Regions from separate parts of the Homo sapiens genome. Here regions 1, 2, 4 and 5 are each linked to region 3. Evidence: promoter capture Hi-C in human tissues and cell types (Jung and others, 2019). All regions are on one chromosome and are shown on one strand. Each heading gives the region's core, a stretch centred on a gene start or on the middle of the fragment in contact. The rest is flanking DNA. Distances are from core to core; before and after follow the strand shown. Region 1 overlaps STK38L (serine/threonine kinase 38 like). Region 2 overlaps BMAL2 (basic helix-loop-helix ARNT like 2). Region 3 holds the start of PPFIBP1 (PPFIB scaffold protein 1). Region 4 overlaps BMAL2 (basic helix-loop-helix ARNT like 2). Region 5 overlaps BMAL2 (basic helix-loop-helix ARNT like 2).

Region 1 (2,700 bases), core at 162-2,661, 220 kb before region 3:
CGATAATATTTTCCAACAGCAGAATATAATTCAGGAAAGAAGTAATTAGAATTAAGGTGTTCTTAATGATCTTAGTAGAAAGGGCATAGAGATTAGCTTCAGAGTTTGACAAATTATGTTGTAAGTTCTAGAGTAACCATAAAATGATAAAAATAGAGTTTGTAATTTCCAGACTAGTAGAAGGAAAAAATTGGAATGAGAAAAAAAAAGTCAGTTCAAAAAGAATGCAAGAGAGAAAGAAAAACTGAAATACCAAAAATGGTAAAAATGAAATACCAAAATAGCACAAAATAAGTTAGAAATAAAAATCTAAATATATCAATAATTAAATGAATTACAAGGGTAATTAAAGTCTCTGGAAGTGATCAGACCATCCTGGGAGAGTGAATAAAGTAGAAGAGAACCAAGGAAGAAAAAGCAGGCACTTAAAAAAATTCATCAGAATTTCGAAGGTTCATTGTCTTTACTTGCTGCAGTGTTAAAGTAATTCAGTTTGCTTTCTTTTTCCAAATAAAGGAAAGTAACAATAAAATTATCTGTGTTATTGAAAAAAAAAGTAGTCTCAGCTTGGTGCCACTGTATGTCAAGTCGAACAATCTGCTCATATTTTCTAAAAGCTTATACTTTTAAGAAAATGTGATGTATTTTTAAGGCTTAACTAATTGGATAAATGCATAAGCCCAATAAATTTCTAATCAGAGCAAAGCATAAGAGCATTTTAGGTGGAAAACTATTTTTAAAAAAGGTACAACAGAAATCATGGATCTTCCTGTTTAGATATGGTAGAAATGGATAAAAGTTACTGTATCTCTTCCAGAATGAGGAATGATTTCATGAAGTGTTAGTCTTGGCAATAACTGAGGAAAGGGACAGTGGAAATTTGACAGAAGAATAAAGTTGTTTATATGTTATAGCTCCTCCCAGAATAATGGTCCTCTTACTCTCTGGATTCTTTCTGCAGAGGAGAAAACTGGAAATCATTCAACAAGCAGCACTGAAGTGCCTAGGGGTAGGTGATGGCAGCACAGAATCTGATGTTAGGAGATTATTCTTGTCTAAGGGTTGGGGCCTAGGGGAAATAATGCATAAACAAAAGACAAAAATCAGTGTAATAAGCACCAAGGTAGGTGCCTATGACAAGCACTGAGGAAACATGTGTTGGAGAATATGCTCTTAGGCCTCATCCTCTCCAGTGGGGTGCTGATGTATCAACAGGCTTTAAATGTTACAAATCTTCTATAAGAAGGAAAACTAAGTGATCTTAATGATGGTTTAGTAAAAAAGCTTACCTTTGGACATGTAGCCATGAATAAGAAATATCAAAAAGTTGTGGGAGGGTTTCAATCCTTAACCCTTATACCCATTCAGTTAAATCCTGAAAAGTTACTGTTATTCTGACACACTCCAGAACTAATTAGGAGGAGTTCTGCTAGGTTTATATTTAGGGAAAACCAATACAATAGAAATAAAATACTAATACTCACTTGGAAATGAGTTGCAAAATGTGTTCCACAACCATCTCTCTAGTTTTAGTTACTTCATCCACACTGCCCTTACCCCAGATGCTCAGCTTAACTAACTTCAAGGGTGCTGTTTAAAAAAAATGAATAACTGAACCTGGCTGTACCTAGAAAAGCAAATGTTCTGGTAGCTAGTGGGTTTTTAAAAAATATTTATTTATTTAGAGACAGAGTCTCACTCTGTCGCCCATGCTGGAGTGCAGTGGCACGATCTTGGCTCACTGCAACCTCCGCCTCCCAGGTTCAAGCAATTCTCCTGCCTCAGCCTCCCAAGTAACTGGGACTACAGGCGCCAGCCACCATGCTCGGCTAATTTTTTTTGTATTTTTAGTAGACACGGGGTTTCACAGTGTTAGCCAAGATGGTCTCGATCTCCTGACCTCGTGATCCGCCCACCTCGGCCTCCCAAAGTGCTAGGATTACAGGCGTGAGCCACCGCACCCGGCCGCTGGTGGGTTTTTAAAAACACACATATATGACTTTCCAATTTTCAAATAATTTTAATACAATAAAATAAATGCAATTGCATTGAACATTTTTCCTTCATAAGTTAAGGAAAACTGAGCTTAGAGTTTCAGTGAGGGACTTAGCCAAGCTCATTTAGCTAATAAGTGTTAGAACCAGGGATATTTACCTTAAAATTTTATACTTTTAGTCAGTATAGTTATCTTTTTATATTTCTAATATAAGCATTGGGAAATATTAATGATATTGGTAGATTGAACATTAAGTAGCAGAGTTTTCCATATTAGAACATCAGTCATTGCCAACATTTCATTTAGGCAGGAGCGTGAAGTAAGCCTTAGAAGTAAATTATTCATTTGGCCAGTATGAGAAAGCAAAATCTGGGTTTGTTTTTTGAGAAAGAAAACTATTCTTAGTGATTATGTTGATCCAACTTGAAAGTTTTTTTTTTTTTAGCCTAGCAAGCTGAAGTGGTTAACCTGAATAAATAAATGTATATTTCTTAAGTGGAAATAGTTAGGAATGTATTTAAAATTTAATTTTTTTTTCCTTTGAAAAGGCAGAAGAAATTAGAAGTGGCCATGGAAGAAGAAGGATTAGCAGATGAAGAGGTAATGTAATTACCTATAATTACTGTACAAAAGCACCCCCAGTGACTTTTCATTCATTTGACATCAGGTATTTTATAACTTAAATAATGTGGATTTTATCATTT
Region 2 (2,700 bases), core at 68-2,567, 160 kb before region 3:
ACAACTGGAATTTCTTTTATGAAGTGCCTATTCAAGTTATTTTATCCAGTTTTCTATTGAGAGTCATTGGTCTTTTTCTTATTGATTCAAAGCCATTCTTTATATAATCTGAATATTAACCCTTTGTTGTTTATATGTCTAACAAATATCTTTTCCCAGTTTGTGGCTTGTGGTTTCATTTTCTTTGTAGTGTCTTTCAATCAACATTAACTTAAAGATTGTCACATTTAACAATCTTTTCCTTTATTGTTTTTACATTTTATGTCTTGGGAATTTCTTTCTATGAAATAAAAATACTCTCCCTCCTTTAGAGTTTTCTTAGTCCATTGATGCTGCTATAACAAAACACCTTAGGCTGGGTAATTTAAAACAACAGGTAGTTATTTCTGACAATTCTAGAGGCTGGGAAGTCCAAGATCAAGGCACGGGCAACTTCATTGTCTGGTGAGGGCTGCTCCATCTGCTTCTACGATGGTATCTTCTTGCTGCATCCTCACTTGGCAGAAGAGGCAAAGGAATGGACGGGACAAACTTGTCCTCTCAGCCCTTTTACGGTGGCACTAATCCTGTCTATGAGGGTGGAGCATGCATGACCTAATCACCTCCTAGTGGCCCCACCTTTTAATATTGTTGAACTGGGAATTAAGTTTCCACATGAATTTCGGAGGAACACAAACATTCAAACCATAGCAAAAGTTTTCTGTATTCTGTTTTTATTTTTTAAATTTAGGTCTCAAATCCAACTGGATTTGTTTTTGTATTTGGTGTAACACAGGGAGTCCCGTTTCATCTTTTCCATAGAGAAAACCAATTGATCCCGGACCATTTATTAAAAAGTTATTTTTTTTCCCCACATTGATCTTTTACCACCTTTGATATTTAGCAGATGTCCATATATACATGTCTGGGCTCTTTGTTCTCTTCCATTCATCTGTCTATCCTCATACCAGTACTACACTGTCTTAATTACTGTGTCTTTACAAGTCTTGATATCTGATAGGACCAGTCTTCCCACCTTTTGCTTGGTTATTCATGACCCATTGTTCTTCTGTATACTGTTCACATAGTTGTATATTCCACTTGAAAGCTTCCACCAAAAAATTATGTATTTTGAGAGGAATTACACATCTATTTTAGGATAATTTACATCTTTAGTATATTGAAGCCTCCAATTCAAAAGCCTGGCATATCTTTCCATTTGTTTGGATCTTTTAAAATGTTTTAAATAAAGTTTTAGTTTTTCCCTAAAGACCTTATACATTTATTAGATTTATTCTTTAGATACTCTGTATTTTTGAGATTATTATAAATTCTATCTTTTAAATATCATTGTCTTACTATTTGTTACTTTGGATAGAAAGGCAATTGATTTTTACATATTGATTTATATACAGCCAACTTGCTATATCCTCTAACTTTAATGATTTATATGTTGATTATTTTGGATTTTCTATGTAGTCAATCATATCATTTCCCAATAAGAGCAAAACAATTTTATTTCTTAATTTTATATTTCATTTTCCTTTTTCTTGCCTTACCCTACTGTGAGCTCTTCTAATATAGAATTAAGGGTGTTCTTGTTTCTGATCTTAAAAAGAACACTTTCAATATTTCTTCACTAATATTTCTACATTTCCTGAGATGATTGTATAGTTTTTCATTTATCTGTTATTGTGGTAAATTATATTCATTAATTACTAATATGAAGGCACTCCTGCATCCCTAGGATGAAACTTAGTCATGATGGATGATTATTTTTATTCATTTCTGAATTTTGTTTGATAATGTTTTGTTAAGATTTTTGTATTTTTGTTTGTGAATGAGATTGGCCTGTAATTTTCCTTTTGTACTGTCCTTGTCAGGTTTTAATATCAAAATTATGTAAGCCTCCTTGACAAAGAAAAGTTGGGGGTCAGGGTAGTCCCTCTTTTTTTCATATAGTGGAATAGTTTGTGTAAGGAAGAATATAGGAATATTCAGGTTTTTATTTATTTTTGTTTCAATTTCGGTAAGTTAAAATTCTATAGAAAATGTTTCATTCCATCTAAATTTTTAAATATTTAGCATGATTTTTAATGGTATTTTATTATCTTTTAAATTTCTAGGGCATCTCAATTATGACCCCAAATTTTTTTTTTGTACATTTTTTTCTTTGAAAAATCTTGCCATAAAGTTGTTAGAGTTTACAATCATCTGGAAGAAACTTTGTTTAGCTTTTTAAATCTACACTCTTATATGTTTATATTCTATTTCATTATTTCTGGTCTTATGATTTTCTTTCTTCTAGTTCTTTGGATTTATTTTACTGATCTTTTTCTGATTTCTTAAATTATTTACTTATTATATTTCAATTTTTCTTTTTTTAAACATTGTTAAAATTTCATGCTAAGTAATGCTTATGCATTGTGTGACATTTTTATTAATACTTAATTACAAATATTTTGTCATTTTACATTTGAATTTCCTCTTGCCCCATGAATTATTTGTGGGTTTCTTAATTTACAAAGATATAGGGATTTTCTGGTTATCTTTTTGTTCCTGGCTTCCAACACAATTACACTGAAGTCAGAAAATGTTTTATGTATGATATCAATTTGTCAAAATCTTTGAGACTGGTTTTTGGTCCAATATATTGTCAGTCTTTATAAATGCTCCATAGTTGGCCAAAAACAATTAACACTGGTGTTTCAAGCTACTAGG
Region 3 (2,700 bases), core at 186-2,685:
TTTTTGGCAGATCGGTAAATGTATGGCATGTCATCAATCAAAAAACAATGAGGCCTGGTGTGGTGGCTCACGCCTGTAATCCCAGCAGTTTGGGAGGCCGAAGAGGGTGGATCACCTGAGGTCAGGATTTCGAGACCAGTCTGGCCAATATGGCGGAAACCCCGTCTCTACTGAAAATACAAAAATCAGCCGGGTGTGGTGGTGGGCGCCTGTAGTCTCAGCTACTCGGAGGCTGAGGCAGTAGAATCACTTGAACCCAGGAGAAGGAGGTTGCAGTGAGCCAGATCATGCCACTGCACTCCAGCCTGGGTGGCAGAGTGACCTGTTTAAAAAAAGAAGAAAAAAAAGAGAAAGTTATTAATTCACTATATTTTTAGAAGATGGTGGGTTATATGCTACCTATATCTCATACAAATAAAGCTGCTTTTCACCATTCAGGTCTGCCTGTAAGCAGCATCTGCCTTGAAAGAACCATTTTCTGAGAATCTTTTTCTTCTGTCAGCCAAGGGGATTATACCGCATGATATCTGTCAAGGATAAACGTTAGTTAATTCTTAATTGAGAGCTCAGCCACTACAATTGGTTCCATTCTACAGTAATTATTCTCATGTGGTTTGTGGAACTCAATTGTGAGGTCCCTCCTTCCTCCACCCTTTTCAGTGTGTGCATTGAAACAGCAGCCTTAAGGTCTTTAAACGGGGAAATACATTTTTCTTGCTTCAGAGATTCAATTTTACTTGCCCGAGAAGCTTGTGTGGTGTGATTTTCATCGCTAAAAGCAACAGCAGCCACATGGCTGACAACACCACCACTTAACAATTCAAAGCTCGGTCACCGTTTTCAGGAGTCTCTTCCAAATCTTTCTGAAGTGCTTTTGAAGTTCTACATTCCCCGTCTAAGGGAACACCCAGCAGTCCCAGGATAAAAGGGCAGAAGGGTGAGCTGACGTTTTCCTTTATTTGCATGGCTTAAAGCTAGCCATTTTCTACACCACGCGCCGCCGGGCTTGTACATGCCCGTGTGCCTGTGACACCGAGGCAATTGTTTCTCCTTAAAAAGGGGGTTCGCGTGGGTTAGTTTCGTTTCTGATCTGGAATCTCAGTAACTACAACAAGAAAAGTTTAAAACTCGACCCGCCAGGTTCTTCCCCATCGGATTATCTCCGTTCCTTAGAGATAGCAGGAAGGGCAGCATTTTCTTCCATCCACCCACTTCCAGCCCTAGTCTGGCTCAGCGAGGAATGCATAAAATTAGTGGACTCCTCTGAGTGACGTTCCCCGGCTCCAATCAGCGGGCGCGCAGGCGCCCCCGGCCCCGCCCCACTGCTGACTCTCTTTGGCTGATTCCTGCAGGGAGGGAGGAGAGAAGGGCGGCAGTGGGAGGGGGAGGTACCTGGAACTGGGAGTGATGTCAGCTCCCAGCTCGGTGCCTGCCCGGATTCCTGACATGGTGTAGTGCAGGCAGGGTGGGGAAAGGACGGGGAAGGACTCGTGTGCTGCGAGCTGGCGGCCGGGCCGGAGTGCTGGGGCTTTGAACTCCGAGAGGAGGTGGACCAGAACTTTTGGAACTAGTGCCGGCGGCTCTCCACCCCCCAGGTAAGGGCGTTTTGCTCCACTCCCAGACGGGAGGGAAGTGGCACCGTTGTGTGGCTGCAGCTGGCTGTTGCAGCTGCTCCTCCTCTTCCCCGGGTCGATTTCCTTGTGCAACTCACTCCTGTTTCCCAATGGGAACGGGCACTTTTTGGGGGTGGTGGGGGTGGAGGGGTAGGGCTTAACTCCTGGGGCTTGGACCGAGCTTGTACGTGAAGAATACTCCAGGATTGGACGTTTAGGTCTTGTCTGTATCCTTAGACCCCCACACCCTAGGCTCCCGGTAATACCTGAGAACCCCAACCAGAGGGGCGTGTGTGTCTCTCTGTCTGTGTGTATTGAGGCATTTAAAAATGCCACAAAAAATTATGGATCATCGACTCAAAAATTATGCTCGTTGAAAAGAAAAAAAAAGTTTTGTATTTTTTTGTCTCCTTGTGGCCTATTATATATTAAAAGAATATCAATGTTAGTCTTATATATCAATGTAAAATATCCTTTTGTGTAATCCAGTCAGGATGTGAGAAATTCACTTGGGGTGTTTATTAATTATGAGCTTGCGGGAAAACTCGTCTCTTGGGGGCACACTTCTAAAACTGCAACTAGTATTCACTCATTTTAACCGAGAAATCCCTTCAGCTGCCAGCTTTATATCTGGAGAGGTTAGGATGGCTGCTGAGAATCTTCAGATCTGTTTCCTGTGGCTGCTTGAGGGGCGAGCTGGTAGTTGTGTTTTCAGGGATCTTTTTTAGAGAAGGGAGTTTTAACAGGGAAACGCGGTGGAAGGCGTGGCATATAAACTCTTAATTATAGGGACGTGAAGTTTTCAACATGTGGGACCAAAACAAATCCTTGCTTTCAGTAAGAACTGCGGAGAGCAATAGAAAAAGAACTTGATTTCAAAGTCCAAGTTTGGTATTTTGAGAAAGCAATTGCGGGAGGAAAAAGATACTTTTAAGAAGTGAAAGAATAGAATTCTGATTTTTGTTTATTTCCTATTTCAAACCCTGTCTTTTTCCTATGTGGAGATTTTGTGTGCCCAGGTCACTAACTGGGTGTGATTGACTTTCTCGAGGGGGCGGGGAAATTGACTCCATACACCGATTCAGGA
Region 4 (2,700 bases), core at 103-2,602, 190 kb before region 3:
TGAAAGGAAGTGAAAATGCACCTACTAATTCAAAGAAAATGCACCTACTAATTCCCCAGATAAGTCTTACGAACTTACAACAAGCTTTTAGATAAAGTTTAATGCTATTTATCTAACTATTTTAGATTAATAGTTTATTGCTCTTTGCATACCAAATGTAAAGCTGGGAATAATAAAAATTAAATTTTCTTAATTAAGGGTAGCAATGTTTCTGTGCGGGCTGGGAGAGCCCGCAGGTATGAGTACCTAAGATGTCACAGACATTTCACAGGGGTGCTTCTGTTAGTCTTACAACAGCGTTGTGAGGTAGGTAGTATCTCCATTTCACAGATGAGAAAACTGAGGCTGGCTCACAGTTATACAGCCAGGACATGACAGAACTAGAGTTAAAATCCATGGCTGTCGCCCATACTCCTTTCTTTTCTTTCCCATCTGACTTGGTGGTGCTAATGAGCAAGTGTGCTCACTTCCAGACACCTGCTTATCTAAAGAGTAGTAAAAAATAGAACGCTCAACGAAACCTCTAGGAGGAAAAAATGTATATGTATTTTTACTATTTCTCCCTATTCCCAGAGGGAAAACAAAAACAGGCCTCTGGGCCAGTTGGTGGCCATCTACAAAACTAGCCCTAAGGTTTTGTTTTGCTTTGTTTTGTTTTGTTTTGTTTTGTGTTTTTTTAACAGTGTAAACCAAACTATGGGTTTCCCCACCCCATCAGTTTTAGATGGTAAACACCGAAATTGAGCATGCTGCCAAGTGACTGGGTGTCCTCCTAATAAATGATTCCAGAATCCTTGGGGTAGGAAGAGGGCAGTCTTGGGGAGCAGCACATTTCCAAGACTCACTGCCAGAGATGGTCTGGGGTTGAGGCCTCTGTGGGGCAGCTTTCTCACCTTCCGTTTTCTTACCAGCTCATGTTTTCACCTATGATAGTGTAAGATCCAATTCTTTTACATGTAGTTCTGCAATTACAGTGGTTTAAATTTACTTTGTGAGTCAGAAATCAAACGTCATGTCCCAATCAATTTTGCCTAAGCTCCTGTTACTGGCATGGATCCTTGGGCAAAATTTCAGCCAGAAATGCATTATTCAAGATAAACCAGGATGGGCTAATTACTTTTCACATATTTAAGGGGGAGGAAAATAGAGAAGGAAAGAGAGAAAGAGTGAGAGGAGGGAGAAGGCAAGAGAGGAGGTGTGAAGTAAAGAGAGGAGGAGAGGGGAAAGGAGGAGGAAGGAGAGAGTGAAGGAAGGAGAAGGGGAGGAGGGGAGGGACTGCCACTCCATCAAAGTTTGACTCCAGGAAAAACAAAAACTAACGTTTAAAATATATAGGGAAAGCCAAAATATCAGTAGGAGAATACAGTGATTTCAGTTTACTTTGTCCTTGTGAAATGACTCCCTAGTTCTAAAAAGCATGATGTTCTGTGCTGTGAACATTGAGGTAGCATCCTTTTGAAATCTCCATTTGTGTCATGTTCAGGAAATCATAAATGAGCAAATAACAATTCATTCTGGTAGCCCTAGTTTTCAGTTGTCTCATTTAATTGAAGACCTCCACTTCTCTGCATTGACAACTGAGTTACTCGGGTGCTTGGGGTCTGGGTCATTAGTCAGCATCATCATGGTCATAAGCATTTTCAGGGACCTCAGAGTGTGCCATGTGCCCTACAGGAGGCAAGGGCACCTGAGACATCCGCCTGTTCTGTGAGACAGTGATTTCCTGCCCTGGTTTTTGCAAGGTTACTACCTGTAGTGGCTCCCCTGGTTCTCAGCATCCCAGCCCTCTGTAGCCCCTGCCTTGCCCAGTGCCTCACCCCTTCCCAGTGGCAGGAGCCAGTGGGAACTAAGAGCCTTCAGTGTAAGCCCTTATTGGAGCTAGGACTGCAGGTGAGATATGTTCTCTGTAGTAGCGTGTAGTATTTCTAGATATTTACTGATAATTTATGCAATACTTAGCTATGTATGCCCTGCCGCACCCTGTTTCCTTCTCTTACTCAGGTGCTGTCACACTTACTGGTCCCTGACACATACTGTTTACATTGTATCACACTAGGCTATAATATCCCATTTACCCACCCAATTTTTTAACTTAAAATATTTTTAAACCTGGCTGGGCGCGGTGGCTCACGCCTGTAATCCCAGCACTTTGGGAGGCTATGGCAGGTGGATCACCTGAGGTCAGGAGTTTGAAACCAGCCTGGCCAACATGGTGAAACCCTGTCTCTACTAAAAAATACAAAAATTAGTCCGGCGTTGGTGGTGCGTGCCTGTAATCCCAGCTCAGGAGGCTGAGGTGGGAGAATCACTTGAACCTGGGAGGCAGAGGTTGTAGTGAGTCGAGATCATTCCACTGCACTCCAGCCTGGGTGACAGAGCGAGACTGTCTCAAAAAAAAAAAAAAAAAAAAAAAGTATTTTAAACTTCCTTAAAACTTCTTAAAATCAGTTCAGTTATACAGTGTTAACATTCTCACCTGAAAATACTTAAATGGTTGGCATGATAGGAAATTTGACATTTATGTAGCTAAATTATTTGTATTTCATTTCTCTAGTCTTTAATCTTATGGTTTAAATCTCTAGATGGTACCATTACAGCGAGATTAAAAACAAAGAAGTCTAAAGGAAAAGGAAATGTAAAGAGAATCATTCTTCCACTCTATGCTTTGCATTAAAGGATATTTAGAATTGAAGGTTAAGA
Region 5 (2,700 bases), core at 43-2,542, 140 kb before region 3:
CAAGCTCACTATACAACCTTGAAAGGTATTTACATTTCTTCTTCACATATATTATGAAGAGAATATCACCTGCCTTTCATACCTCTCAATTCTTTAGAAGTTCTGAAGTTGAGCTGGGCGTGGTGGCTCATGCTTGTAATCCCCGTACTTTGGGAGGCTGAGGTGGGCGGATGGCTTGAGTCCAGATTTCGAAACAAGCCTGGGCAAAAAAATGCAAAAATTAGCCAAGTGTGGTCTTGCGTGCTTGTAGTCCCAGCTACCTGGGAGGCTGAGGTGGGAGGATCGCTTGAGCCTGGGAGGTGGAGGTTGCAGTGAGCAGTAATCATGCCACTGCACTCCAGCCTGGGTGACAGCCTGTCTCAGAAAAAAAAAAAAGTTCTGAAGTATAGTATTAATTATTAAGTTATTGAGAGATTTCTATCCTTCAAAAAGAAAACTTCCTTAAACTCTGCAGTTTCTCTTAAAGCTTCATTCAGATTTACGAGTAGTACCTTATAATGCATCACATGTTGCCATTCAGAGTATCCTCAAATATGTGAGACACTGGGGGAAGGAGGTCCTTGCCACTGCCTCTTGGTGTGTGGGTGATCATTTCTGGCTTTAGCAATTCCCCAACTTGAGCTTGAATTTTAAATCAAAGTGTAATAAATGTATATGTGTACCTGTGTATTAGTCCATTCTTGCATTGCTATGAAGGAATACCTGAGACTGGGTAATTTATAATGAAAAGAAGTTTAATTGGCTCCCGGTTCCACAGGCTGTGCAGGAAGCATGGTGGCTTCTGCTTCTGGGGAGGCCTCAGGGAGCTTTCACTCATGGCAGAAGGCAAAGTGGGAGCCGGCATCTTACATGGCAGGAGCAGGACCAAGAGAGGGTAGGGGAGGTGCCACACACTTTCAACAACCAGATCTCATGAGAACTCACTATTGTGACACAGTATCAAGGGGAAAATCCACAAGCATGATCCAGTCACCTCCCACCAGGCCCCACCTCCAGCACTGGGGATTATTATTCGACATGAGATTTGGGCGGGGACACAGAGCCAAACCATGTCAACATGTGCGGTAGAAATCACCCCTGTTTTGGGAATAGCCCCAGTCCAACTTGGGTGAAGTGGAATAGAGTTTTCGATTTACCAATGCCGATGATGTAAATTTGCACTGAAAAGATAAGACCTGGCCAAGCAGCAAGCTGAAGACTCCAGAGGAGACTCTGCAAGTTCAGATTTGTAAAGATCTAGAAGATTATAGTGAAATTTGGCTCAAAAATCATAAAAAGGGAGTGAGCAAAGGATGACCAAGGGTCTTAGTTTAGATCTCAAACACTGCCAGGAAAAGGAAAATATATTTCAGGGTAATGGAAATTATCTGGGCACCATGCAAGGTATGGTCAAGTCAAGTTAAGGTGGCTAAGAGGAGAGCAGCACTCACCTAGACTCCTGGTGCTTCCTGTTGGGAGCATGATGGGAGATCTTATTTTCATAACAGTCTGTTGTGAAATAAGCTTCTCTTTTACCCACAGCTGAGGCTTGCAATATTTTCCTTAAATCCTTCAGCAATGAAAATTTACAGGCTCAACTGAGGTCATTTGATTGCAACCCTGAAATTAGCTGAGTATTTTCACATTAGCAGTGTCCTAAGGGAGGAAGACCTAAGGGAAAAGCCATGAATCAGTCGACTAGTTCAACAAAACATGATCTGAGCATCAACCGCATTCCTGTTCTGTGCTGAGAATATAAAAATTAATGAGGCAAGATCTCTGCCCTTTAAGGGTTTGTGGTCTGACTAGGAAGACTGACTTAGGAAGAGATCGTCAGAGTCTGGTGCGATGAATGTTACAGCAGTGGTTCGAGTGAGAGGGGAGGCTGTGAAAGCTCAGCAGGGAGGAGGTGAGTCCAGAGGAGATTCCTTGGAACAGGGCGTAGATTTTGCCTCAGCTCTGCTGAACAGAAGTGACATGGTTAAGTACTCATCCCCGCAGTCTGACCAGATCCTTCGGTCAGTGCTGCTCACAAGCAAGATGATTTAAGGCAACTGGATCTGCATTCCAGGGTATTGTCACAGCATCCCCACACTTGCTCGGCAAAAACTTAGAAGCCAGATCAACAGAGGGCTGCCTGTGGATCATGTTATTTTGGTCCATAGCATAATTAGGTTAAAGGCAGAAGGATGGTGATGTGATTTTTTTCACTATACTCTACAGCAGTGCTTTTTAAACGATCTGGATGAAGAACAGGTGTTCCCCCCATCCACCACTAGTTCATTGTAAAATACAGTTAATTATGGAAAAATGATCATGGGTTTGGCTGTCACAGCAATGTTATGTTTTTATAAAAGCCTCTAAATACTTCTTAAATTCTGCACTTGATCTCACCACAGTTTGCTGATGACATTGGTCTGCAGACCACATTTAGAGTAGCCCTGCTCTGCAGCATGAGGTCCTGTGTCTGCAATCTGATTACCAGGCGGGGCAGTGAAGCACAGTGGTTCACACGCATGCGTCCTGAAGGCAGACCTTGTGGTTCAAATCCTGGCTTCCTCCCTTTATAGCTATGTGACTTACTCAAGTTATTTGACATTCTAATCCTCAGTTTTCACATCTGTGAGATAGGGATGCATTTGCCTCCTGGGACTATTGTTAAGAGTAAAGAGTAATGCATGTAGAGTACAGCACAGTGTTCAAATGGTGGGGATGGGGTCA

Evidence for each region. The method cuts DNA at HindIII sites, captures the fragments that hold promoters and counts their contacts. A contact is called where the count stands out against the background at its distance.
Region 1: a fragment that was not itself captured here is called in contact with the fragment with the promoter of PPFIBP1 in region 3 in 2 of the 25 tissues and cell types used here (aorta and psoas muscle).
Region 2: a fragment that was not itself captured here is called in contact with the fragment with the promoter of PPFIBP1 in region 3 in 1 of the 25 tissues and cell types used here (mesenchymal stem cells).
Region 4: a fragment that was not itself captured here is called in contact with the fragment with the promoter of PPFIBP1 in region 3 in 2 of the 25 tissues and cell types used here (adrenal gland and aorta).
Region 5: a fragment that was not itself captured here is called in contact with the fragment with the promoter of PPFIBP1 in region 3 in 4 of the 25 tissues and cell types used here (H1 embryonic stem cells, IMR-90 fibroblasts, aorta and 1 more).

What each region holds. Positions count from the first base shown.
Region 1 is chr12:27,299,593-27,302,292 of GRCh38, forward strand. STK38L (serine/threonine kinase 38 like) reads left to right here. Exons shown (of 14, transcript NM_015000.4): 3 at 2,545-2,596. Among named protein-coding and RNA genes, the nearest start is that of BMAL2, 32 kb to the right of the region's middle. The HindIII fragment of the contact is 6,379 bases long and covers 1-2,700 here.
Region 2 is chr12:27,363,594-27,366,293 of GRCh38, forward strand. All of the region lies in intron 1 of BMAL2 (basic helix-loop-helix ARNT like 2), which reads left to right. Among named protein-coding and RNA genes, the nearest start is that of BMAL2, 32 kb to the left of the region's middle. The HindIII fragment of the contact is 3,246 bases long and covers 1-2,700 here.
Region 3 is chr12:27,522,771-27,525,470 of GRCh38, forward strand. PPFIBP1 (PPFIB scaffold protein 1) reads left to right here and starts at 1,436. Exons shown (of 30, transcript NM_003622.4): 1 at 1,436-1,595. RefSeq lists enhancers at 253-854, 752-1,211, 1,458-2,058. The HindIII fragment of the contact is 12,160 bases long and covers 1-2,700 here.
Region 4 is chr12:27,334,558-27,337,257 of GRCh38, forward strand. The region is part of intron 1 of BMAL2 (basic helix-loop-helix ARNT like 2); the gene reads left to right. Among named protein-coding and RNA genes, the nearest start is that of BMAL2, 3.1 kb to the left of the region's middle. The HindIII fragment of the contact is 3,428 bases long and covers 1-2,700 here.
Region 5 is chr12:27,380,617-27,383,316 of GRCh38, forward strand. The region is part of intron 5 of BMAL2 (basic helix-loop-helix ARNT like 2); the gene reads left to right. Among named protein-coding and RNA genes, the nearest start is that of BMAL2, 49 kb to the left of the region's middle. The HindIII fragment of the contact is 4,087 bases long and covers 1-2,700 here.